Linked DNA regions of Homo sapiens: region 1 is linked to region 2. Evidence: promoter capture Hi-C in 16 types of primary human blood cells and fetal thymus (Javierre and others, 2016). All regions are on one chromosome and are shown on one strand. Each heading gives the region's core, a stretch centred on a gene start or on the middle of the fragment in contact. The rest is flanking DNA. Distances are from core to core; before and after follow the strand shown.

Region 1 (5,426 bases), core at 1,069-3,568, 540 kb after region 2:
TGTGAGGATGTCAGTCCTGCTCTATGTGAATCTAGCTGAGGAAAGCATGTAGAATGTAGTACTCTGGTCTCTAGGTCTCAACCCAAATCAGTGGGGATTTTTCTTGAAATAATATAGGTGTAATGATGAGAGAGAAAGGTTATACATTGACATACGGCCACTATGTAGGCAAGACTAATCAGCCTGTATGGCATATTACATATAAAATTAGAACACTTTGTCGCTGGGGTTGACTATAGAGAGATGGAGACAGGAACTCCTGCAGAGATTCTGCAGCCACAGGGTACACCTGCTTAAAATGGAGTCCCCACAGCAGAAGGCACAGCTCAGATGCAATGAGAGGAACCGGGTTCTGAAAAAACTGAACCCTAACAAACTATTCCTAAAGCCACTGTGCCTCATTTGGGGCTTTGGGTTATATCATTCAACAAACTGCCATTTCTTCACTTTTTTTTAAAGCCAGGGTAAAAGCAATGTATTATGCATATGGAAAAATCTTTCTTGAGTATTTTCTCAAGAGAATACTCTCTTGAGTATTCTCAAGAGTCTAAGTAATAAAAGTAAGGAGGTCAAAGTTTGCCTACTCATGAAAGGGCCAGATAGAATATATACACAATGTAGGTAAGAAAAAAAATTAGCTTAATATATTTAACTGACAGTTGATCAAGCACACCTGCTGGTTCAGGCAGGTGTCAATGCCAGAAAACACTATTCAGGTAGGATATGTGTGTCAGGAATGCAGTGCTCAGTAGGACTACTCAATAAATTAAAAAGTAAAAGTTTTAGAAGAACTCAGAAATTTTCTAACTATATTGCAGAAATTTGAATTACTTTTAGTATTTTTGTTGTTACATTTACATATCTTTCAATGGAGGCAATGAAACATGTTACTTTTCAAAATTGCTTTTAAACCAAATGGAAATCTTAGTTTTAAATGTTTTAAGAGGATATGTGTTGTCATATTTGGCCTAACAGTATTATTTTTATTAACATTCTGATATATTATTATAAATATCTGCTAAAGAGAAAGTTTGAAAAATGCCTTGTTCAAGAATTATTTAGAAGTGCATGAATACTTTGAACACTTTTTAAATTATATAGGTGGGGTCTTCCTTTAAATAACTGCAAGTAAGTTCTAAAACATGTATGTCTGTATTTCATGTAGTTCATTCATGTTACAAAAACTTGTTACTAAGTCTTTGTAAAATGAATGAACTCTTGTGTTTCATTCATGTTACAAAAACAGTAATGTGGCATTATAATTTCAGTTTGAACTTCATCCTTGAGTATGTACTTAAAACAACAACAAAAATGTGGTGTTTGTCCTTAAATGCTCATTAACTATTTTAATGATCAGAATAACTTATAACTAAGACAAGAATATTTAGTCTAAATTTTTTTATTCATTCACTTAACATATTGTGTCCCTACTATGTGTAAAACACAGAAACAATTATTACGATTTGTTTTAACAGAAAGGAAATGGAAAGAATTATGAAAGTGTTCTCCAAAAATATTTCTTTATCATTGTTCTAAGTGTACCTAAAACTTCTTTGTTTTTCATACTGTAAATAAAGGAGTCTGCAGAGGAATTATAATCATGTAGAACGGAAAATACATTTCATTCCACTGTTAATCTGGGCCAGACCTGGGGCACCCATACATGAAGAAGACACTGCTATAGAACAAAGAGACAGAGAGCAGGTGGGCACTGCACATGAGGAAGCTTTTGCTTCTGCCCTTCTCAGAATTCTTTTTCAGTAAGGCAAAGAGGACTTGGGTATAAGAAACTATGATGATCATAAAAGCAAAAGCTTGTATAAAAGCAGTGAAAACCACAAAATCACTAATGAGTTAATAAATGGATCAATGTAAGAAATTGTATATTGTACACTGAAAAAATGGTAAGATTTTTTTAAAATACATATTATTTCTTGAGGGTTATAGAGGAGATTCTAGACAAGAACTAACTAGTCCCATAGCCTGCCACTCATAAGTACCTTAAAATTGAATGTATTAACAACGAAGTGTTTTAAGAGCAAAAGGTACACGGTATATTTTATGCCAAAATCTTAGAAAATGAGACTTTGTTTTGGGTTCAAAAGTGTATTTTCTCATTCTTTCAGGAACTTTTTTATCTTTCTAGAACAAAAAATGATCTGATCCTCTTGGTATTACAAACGGGACTATCACAGTCAAGGTGGAATAAAACATTACAAAAACATCATAGTAGAAAGAATGGCCAGTGTTTTGAATATCTGGATTCAATTTAAGTGATAAGTTAAATAGTAAATTATAAATTTTATTTAAATAACAAATTAAATGGGGAGAAAGGATTAACCAAATTAATAGGCAATGACTAACATAAACATAGGTAAGGCAATGCAGAAAAAGCCTCAAGCTAAAAGTGTATCCATGAGTTTTACAAGCCTGGAAAGTAAATGGAAAGGAAACTAAACGAGATCCTGTGGAAACACAGGGTGAAAAAATATGTCTGTATCATCAATACATGTCTTTAATGACAAACTTTGCATAATTCCGGACATAAAATATGTTTTACATATTCAAATCCCTGCCTTGTTGATCTAAAGCAGGAACTACCTACTTATAAAACAGTAGGCCTAAGTATACAACCATTCAAGGGAACATTTATAAGTATTAGATTTACAACTCTTAAGGTTTAATGACAAGGCCAGCCAGTAGGTGTTACAACGTGACATATTTTTATTTCTATTAACTAGTCACCAATTCTGTATAACTGTAGCTAAAGTCTTCACTTCCCAAGTCTGTGCAGGCCTGAAACTCGTTTTCTCAAAGCTTCTGCTTTGTTAACTCAAAATTAAGGCACAATAATGGAAAATTTAAGGAAAAGTTTTAGAGTTAGTGAAAAACAACAGTAAAAATACATAGAACGATTGGGATTTTTAATTTTTAATTTTTTTTATTTCCAAAGGTTTTGGGGAACAGTTGGTGTTTGGTTATATGAATAAGTTCTTTAGTGGTGATTTCTGAGATTTTGGTGCACCCATCACACAAGCAGTGTAGCCTGTAACCTGTACCCGAGGTGTAGTCTTTTATCCCTCGCCACCACCAACACTTTCCACCGAGTCCCCAAAGTCCAATGTATCGTTCTTATGCCTTTGTGTCCTCATAGCTTAGCTCCCTCATATAAGTGAGACCATACAATGTTTGGTTTTCCATTCCTGAGTTACTTCACCTAGAATATTAGTCTGCAATTCCATCCAGGTTGCTGCAAATGCCATTCTTTCATTCTTTCTTATGGCTGAGTAGTATTCCGTTATATCTATCTATCTATCTCACATTTTCTTTATCCACTTGTTGATTGATGGGCATTTGGGCTGGTTCCACATTTTTGCACCTGCAAATTGTGCTACTATAAACATGTGTGTGCAAGTATCTTTTTCATATAATGGCTTCTTTTCCTCTGGGTAGATACCTAGCAGTGGGATTGCTGGATCAAATGGTAGATCTACTTTTAATTTTTTTTTTTTTTTTTGAGACGGAGTCTTGCTCTGTCGCCCAGGCTGGAGTGCAGTGGTGCGATCTCGGCTCTCTGCAAGCTCCGCCTCCTGGGTTGACGCCGCCTCAGCTTCCCGAGTACCTGGGACTACAGGCGCCCACTACCACGCCCGGCTAATTTTTTGTATTTTTAGTGGAGACAGGGTTTCACCATGTTGGCCAGGATGGTCTCGATCTCTTGACCTCGTGATCCACCCCACTAGACCTCCAAAAGTGCTGGGATTACAGGCATGAGCCACCGCGCCCGGCCTACTTTTAATTTTTTAAGGAATTTTCACGCTGTTTTCCATAGTGGTTGCATTAGTTTGCATTCCCATCAACAGTGTAAAAGTGTTCTCTTTTCACCACATCCACGTCAACATTAATTTTTTTTTCTTTATTCTTGCAGGAGTGAGGTGGTATCGCATTGTGGTTTTGATTTGCATTTCCCCCATAATTAGTGATGTTGAGCATTTTCCCATATGTAAGCGGCATAATGTATAAAATTCCATAATTGTGGCTGAATAGGAAAGCTCAATCTATTAAAACTTAACTTTCACAAATAAACATAAATTTCATATAATTTTATACAAAATCATACGGAGGTAATTTGTCTAGAAAATTCTAATTTATCTGGAAAAGCAAATGTGTAAAAAAAAAAAGCCAACATAATTTTTTTTTTAAAAAAAAAGGAAGTTCATGTTCCATGCCAGATATTGCAATTTATCAGAAAGTTACTTTAACAATTGAAACCATGTTTAACGTCATCAAGGTTCACTGTGGGTATATTCACTAAAATTGGAGCGTCTGTTTATAGACATGGGGAAGGAAAAATAGCAAAGCTGATTAAGAGCACAGACTTTGGAAAAGGCAGTTTTGGTGGCTTTGCTTCTGAGACTTTGGTCAAATAACTTAAAATGTCTAAACCTTGGTTTCCTCACTTGTGAAATAAAGTTAATAATGTGCACTTACAAAGTTGTTGCAAGAATCAAATGAGAAGATGAATGTCAAGCCCTCACCCCTGTACTTGATAGATAGGTAAGGAATCATTAAATGGTGGTGACTTTAATTATTTCACTCTGTCTCCCAGGCTGGAGTGCAGTGGTGCAATCTCAGCTCACTGCAACCTCGGCTTACTCGGTTCAAGCAATTCCCCTGCCTCAGCCTCCTGAGTAGCTAGGACCACAGGTGTGAGCCACCACCCAAGGCTAATTTTTGTACTTTTAGTAGAGATAGCATTTCATCATGTTGGCCAGGCTGGTCTCGAACTCCTGACCTCTGGTGATCCCCCACCGTCTCGGCCTCCCAAAGTGCTGGGACTAGAGGCATGCGCCACTGTGCCCAGACAGTTATTTCTGTTATTTATTTTAATTATTCACAAGGAAAGCAGCAACGCTGTTTTGTAAGAGAATCGCATTCTGAGTGAGAAAATCAAGATATGTGCTGTTGATTTGCCAAATTCTTGACAATAACAACTTAACCCTGTACACAAAATAACTTTTACAACCAACTCAAGCCATCTGCAAGTTGTCATGGAGACCAGAAAATAGTGATTTAGGTTAAGCAAATGAGGCACATCTTCTAGAACGACAAAAACTATAGGTATAGCATGTTTTAAAGAGAAACATTTAACATTTTAATGAAAATAACAGACATCGTGACATTTCACAACTAAACACTCCAGGCTGCATCTTTTCAAAAATGACATTTTCCTTCCTAACCACGGTACCATACTGACATCTGACAAAATTAACAGTATTCTCTCAACACTATCTTATAACTAGTATATATTCAAATTTCTCCATTTGTTTCTTATCTTTTACAGCATCACATTGCATTTGTTGTCTCTATCAAGACTCTTTTGACCCAGAACAGTCTCATTTCTTTCCTCTTCCTTTTCTTTTTTA
Region 2 (5,689 bases), core at 2,338-4,837:
TGTACCTGCTAGTTCTTCTTTCTAAGTTCCCTATTTTTGTTAATCTTAGATATGTAGGCTCAAAACCCTAGAATCATATTCAAAAATTTCTCCCTCTGGTGGGCATTTATGGTACTTTCTGCTCATCACATTTCCCTTTGTCTAGAAATGATACCCCACATGATATCTCCAACTTCCCTACCCCAAAACACTAACGGGAGAGTCCATGTTCTTACATGATCCCATTTTTTCACTCATGGCTATTTTTTATTGGTTGGTCCCATGGTAGGTATTTGAACCAAGGTGGGAAACAGTCTATATCAGAAAGGCTTAAGCTGCAACAAAACACCTGGCAGACAGTTCTTTAAATTATTTTTTCTCATATAACAAGAAGTTCAAAGGTTAGTGGCCCAGTGCTGGTGCATTTGCTCATGGATGTCATCAGGACCAAGGTTCCTTCTTTCTGACTGCTCTGCAAACTTTTACATGGGACTTTCAGAGTCTTAGTCACAAAATGGTTGCTGCAACTCCAGACATTACATCAATATTACTATAGGGAAGAATTAGGGAGAAGCCACAGGGACTGAAAGGATAGGTACCATGAGTTAGTCCCTTTCATAAAACCTCCCTGAAATGGTATCTATACCTTTGTGAAAAAATAATTTCAAAATTACACCAGTTAAAGAAAAAGCAAGTTGACAACACTAAATTGCATTGGATATTTAGACTATAAATATAAACAGCTTTAAGAACCAATTATTTTAATAATCTATGTAAGCATTTGCTACTATAGACCTAAAAGTTTAAAATACAAATTCTAGGAGAAAAAAATGAATTAACATTTTAAAAATTCTACTTCCTTGGTAATCCTACCACCCCCCTCCCATCACCCCACCAAAATTTCTGATGAGTTGGGCAGAAGGATGCCAAGGCAAACACAGATTTTCAGCAATATTTTGTTACTAATTAGCCTGAGTTTCTGTATCTATCTGAAAGCAACAGAACTGAGTGAATTTGGTAATACATTTCTTAACTTTGGCTTTCAGAATTTTATAATTGTTGAAAATAGTATAGTTTAGTAAAAATAGTGAGAATTCTAGGTGTGTGTGTGTGTGTGTGTGTGTGTGTTGTTAGAAGGCAGTAAAGCTACCAGAGGGATAAACATTAGAACTCTCTCTAACATGCACCAGCAGGCCTAAAATAAGTTATGTTCAACAGGGCTTTAGGAAAAAGTTCGTAAGGATTCTGAGAAGCATGTGGAGTTTGAAAAATGATGTTTATGTACTAATACCTATAAGGCTAGGCAGAATCATCTTTGCAATAGGGTCACATAAAAAATAGTTGGAAAGCAATGCAAGAAACTAAGCTAAAAAACAGACAAGAACTTCTACTTTACACTTTACTTTCTACAACTTATTAGAAACTTTTTATTTGTCCCAACTAGTTTTCTGATGTAAGAAATTACTTAGATAGGTGATGTCTTTTTTTCTTCCCCCATACCGACAAATACAACTTAAATATAAGTATCCCACTTGGGAACAATTTGAACCTCCAGAAAGGTGATTTAAACTCACACTAACAAAGTTATTGAAGCCTTTCTTAAGCATTGAATAACAGTTTGCCAGTAGGGAGGGTGCTAGGAACCAGAGGAAGAAAGGAGTGAGGCCCTTCGTATAGAGAGGCTAAGGATGAGAGGGATGGAAACCTGGAATCTAGTATGCAATTTGCTCAGGATCAGCCTTTGTGACCGGGCAAATGTTCAAAACAGTCTGTTCTTACTTAGCTTTAACTAACTTTATGGGCTTTACTAACTTTATGGGTATTTTTAGCAGAATTAGAGCAATAATGAGGGGGTTTCTTACAAATAAACGTACCAGGGAGGTTCCTTTTCATTTGATGAGGTTCATTTATCATCACCAGGCCCAGCCCAACCCCATCACAGGCATCCAGTAGAGGCCATCAACCCTTCCTACAATGACAATTCTTATTTCCCTTCCTCCACTTCTAACTTGGCCTCCTGGCAGGTTGCACTATGACCAAAAGCTAATTGTTTTTCTTCCCTAAAAGTCGCTTAGTCACTTCTCAATCCAAGCCTTTACTTTTCACAGATTCTCAGTGGTGAGGCTTCGGCAAGCACACCCACCTTGCTAACATCATGTCCCAGTGAGAGCTGCCAGGTACAGTTGTGTGTGGACAAGATGCCAATTGATCTGACTCAAAAGCCATTGAAGTTCCATCAGTGCATCCTGCCACAAAGAAAACACTTGTGGGAAAAGCTACCAGTGGCTTAAATTATTATCTACTACTAGAAATTAAAATCATCCCGGAGACTTATGGGACAAATTAGCCCATGACAATAGTTCTCACACTTTTACGTCCAGGAACCATGGAGCTGTGGTATGGTTACAGGGGAGACAAAGACCTGCCTGTCAAATCTATTAGCTTCTTTCCTCATTTCTTTAAAGGGTGGGGGAAGGGAGACAGAGTAGGAGGAAGTGTGGATATTTGCCTTGCCTAGTTTGTAGCAGTTGTTGTAAGTATTAAACGTGAGCAATATTTGGGAGCACCCTACAGTAGTAGAATAACTATTTTTTAAATTCTTATTTGTTAATCACCAAAACACACCAAGTCAGGAATTTTCTACTGGTTAACCAAAACAGTCACGTTGCTTTTCCTTTTTCTAAAATAATCAAGTAGGCACTATAGAAGCAAGGCCTGGGGAAACCTTTTTTTTTTTTTTTTTTTTCTGAGACAGAGTCTCACTCTGTCACCCAGGCTGGAGTGCAGTGGTGCGATCTCGGCTCACTACAACCTCTGCCTCCCGGGTTCAAGCGATTCTCCTGCCTCAGCCTCCCGAGTAGCTGAGCCTACAGGTGCACGCCGCCACGCCCGGCTATTTTTTTGTAGTTTTAGTAGAGACAGGGTTTCACCATGTTGGCTGGTCTCGAACTCCTGACCTCATGTGATCCAACCGCCTCGGCTTTCCAAAATGCTAGCATTACAGGCTTGAGCCACCGCGCCCGGCCCCAGCCTGGGGAAATCTTAAGGACAGAACTGTGATGTGGACTCGATCACAGAAAGTCTTCTCCTCGACTCTCTTCCGAGTCCATTACTAGCTTCTCCCACTCTCTTTAGAAAACCATCCTTCAGCAAAGAGTTTCCCAGCCTGCCCATCCCCTCTAAAAACTCTAGAGGACCAGGACCCAGGGCGAAGGGCGGGTCTATACAGATCCTGAGCCAGGCTCTGTATTCGCAAATCCTGTTTGAAAATGTAAGCGGGACTGGGATCTCTGCCACATTTCCGCCCCAGTCCGCCCTCAGCCTCCCAGCCCTACTCTATCTTCTCTCCTTGGCTGAGTAAACAGCCGACCCGAGGTTGTACGTGACAAGAAAGCCTCTTTTATCTCTCCCGTCCCTTCCACAGCACCGTCCCCGCCCCACTCTCTTCCCTTCGGACCAGCCCTTCTGGGCGCGTCGGATTCTTATCTCCCGCCCCGCGCAGGGACGCCGCAGGCGGCGATAGGATCCGGACTACAGCTCCCAGCGCGCCCCAGTTCCCGCCCCCGCCTCCGGAGCCCGACGCTGCAGCGGCTCTTCTCGAAAGGTTCTTTCCGCCTGTGCAGCTCGCCGGCTCAATACTCCGGGGGTCTGGGTGGGGGGCTCAAACGCAGGGCTCTGGGACGCAGGCACTGCTCCAGGTGATAGTGCGGGAACATGGCCTTGCAGCTGGGCAGGCTGAGCTCGGGCCCCTGCTGGCTCGTGGCGCGGGGCGGCTGCGGAGGGCCCCGCGCCTGGTCCCAGTGCGGCGGCGGAGGGCTCCGAGCCTGGTCCCAGCGCAGCGCAGCCGGACGCGTCTGCCGGCCCCCTGGCCCGGCTGGCACGGAGCAGAGCCGCGGGCTGGGGCACGGCTCGACGTCGAGAGGCGGCCCCTGGGTGGGGACAGGGCTGGCCGCGGCGCTGGCGGGGTTGGTGGGGCTGGCCACCGCCGCCTTCGGGCATGTGCAGCGGGCGGAGATGTTGCCTAAGACCTCGGGGACGCGGGCCACTTCGCTGGGGAGGCCGGAGGAGGAGGAGGATGAGCTGGCCCACCGCTGCAGCAGCTTCATGGCCCCGCCTGTGACCGACCTGGGCGAGCTGCGAAGGAGGCCGGGCGACATGAAGACCAAGATGGAGCTGCTGATTCTGGAGACCCAGGCCCAGGTGTGCCAGGCTCTGGCACAGGTAGACGGGGGCGCCAACTTTTCTGTGGACCGGTGGGAGAGGAAGGAAGGTAAGGAGGCCGGCCCCTGGCGGGAGTTGGAGACAGGGAAAAAGGGTCAGGTTCCAGGTTGCAGACAGAAAATATAATAGTTCACAATATGGGATGGGGTAGGTAGGGGGTACCCACAGAGAGGCCGCTTGGTTAGAGGCCGCTGATAAAAAGATGGACACGAAAGGGTCACTAGCCCTCTGCTTGCAGGTATGGACCCGGATCAGCTGTCACTGTAGTACTGCATTTCAAAATCTTTGCAATTCCGTAGCAGCATTTTTTTGTAGAACTCTTAAGGGGTATTTGCAGCTAACAAGCTTAGATGTCCAAAGTTCGTTACTGAACATAAATTTCAATAGATTATGGAACACATTTTCTCTCCTTCTCTGGGTGAATTTGCCCTTTTTCCTCTTTAGGAGATGGAAAGAACTCATCTCCTGTGCGCTAAGTGTCGGCTAAACTCCTCCAGCCAGGATGTCATTGTGTCAGAATCTTCCCACTTCTTTTTACTGTTACACAAGATATATTTGATTCGTTTCTCAGTAGCACTACCAAATGCACGCATCAGATTTCCTGCTAGGAAAATCTTCTCTTCCAATATCAAAATACTTGAGCATCAAAACCCAGTTCTCGTAGAGGCGTACATTCATGACCATGTTGTTGCCCATACAGTGAAACCCCACATCTTGAGTGGAAACTTGAAAGATTCCTGACTTTTCCTAGCTGGAAATACAACAGCAGCTTCTCACCGGCAGATTTTGAGCTGTGATACTGACACATCTATATTAAATGAAGTTCAGTCTAGTTTTCCATCTTATGTTTTCAAGCAAAGACCACTGAACCAGGACACAACCTCAAGTACTAGACCAGCTGTGTGATCCTCAGAAGTTACTTTTTTATGGCTGTTTTCCCATCTATGAAATATATATGTATTTCATCTCTTTTAATCCTCATACTACATATATATATATATATATCCATATACATATATATATATATATATGGATGGAATATATGTGAAGTGCTTAGAATATTGTCTGAAGCATAGACAGCATTTAGACAAATTGTTGCAGCCACTTGTCAGCAGTTTGATCTTGGATAAGATGTTTTGCCCCTCTGGTCCTCAGTTTTCTCATTTGGAATATATGAGGGTTGTACTGGATCATCTTATGTCCCATCCAGCTCTAAATGTTCTTAGAAATAAAACAAGCCAAACATGAACTTTCATGAAACATTGCCCTTGCAGTGACCCTAATACCTTAAGAAAAAAAATTAGTAAGGCTGATACACGTGAATACTAATGTGCGTCTCACTCACTCTAAGGTTCTGAATCCCTTCAGAATTTGATTACCTACTGTTTCTTAATTGCTTGTAAATTAAAAGGCAAGCAGCCCACTGAGAAAGAAATTTTTGAAACAATATAGATCTCTTAAATTCAGTAATAATAGAACACCCTTCAAG

Evidence for each region. The method cuts DNA at HindIII sites, captures the fragments that hold promoters and counts their contacts. A CHiCAGO score of 5 or more calls a contact.
Region 1: a fragment that was not itself captured here is called in contact with the fragment with the promoter of CPOX in region 2 in 6 of 17 cell types (activated CD4 T cells, total CD4 T cells, naive CD8 T cells and 3 more); the score reaches 9.1 in activated CD4 T cells.

Annotation. Positions count from the first base shown.
Region 1 is chr3:98,049,831-98,055,256 of GRCh38, reverse strand. It overlaps the pseudogene OR5BM1P. Among named protein-coding and RNA genes, the nearest start is that of GABRR3, 17 kb to the right of the region's middle. The HindIII fragment of the contact is 1,003 bases long and covers 1,817-2,819 here.
Region 2 is chr3:98,591,509-98,597,197 of GRCh38, reverse strand. It overlaps CPOX (coproporphyrinogen oxidase), which reads left to right and starts at 3,587. Exons shown (of 7, transcript NM_000097.7): 1 at 3,587-4,249. The coding sequence starts at 3,694. RefSeq lists an enhancer at 3,049-3,098 and a silencer at 3,599-4,048. The HindIII fragment of the contact is 5,536 bases long and covers 1-4,547 here.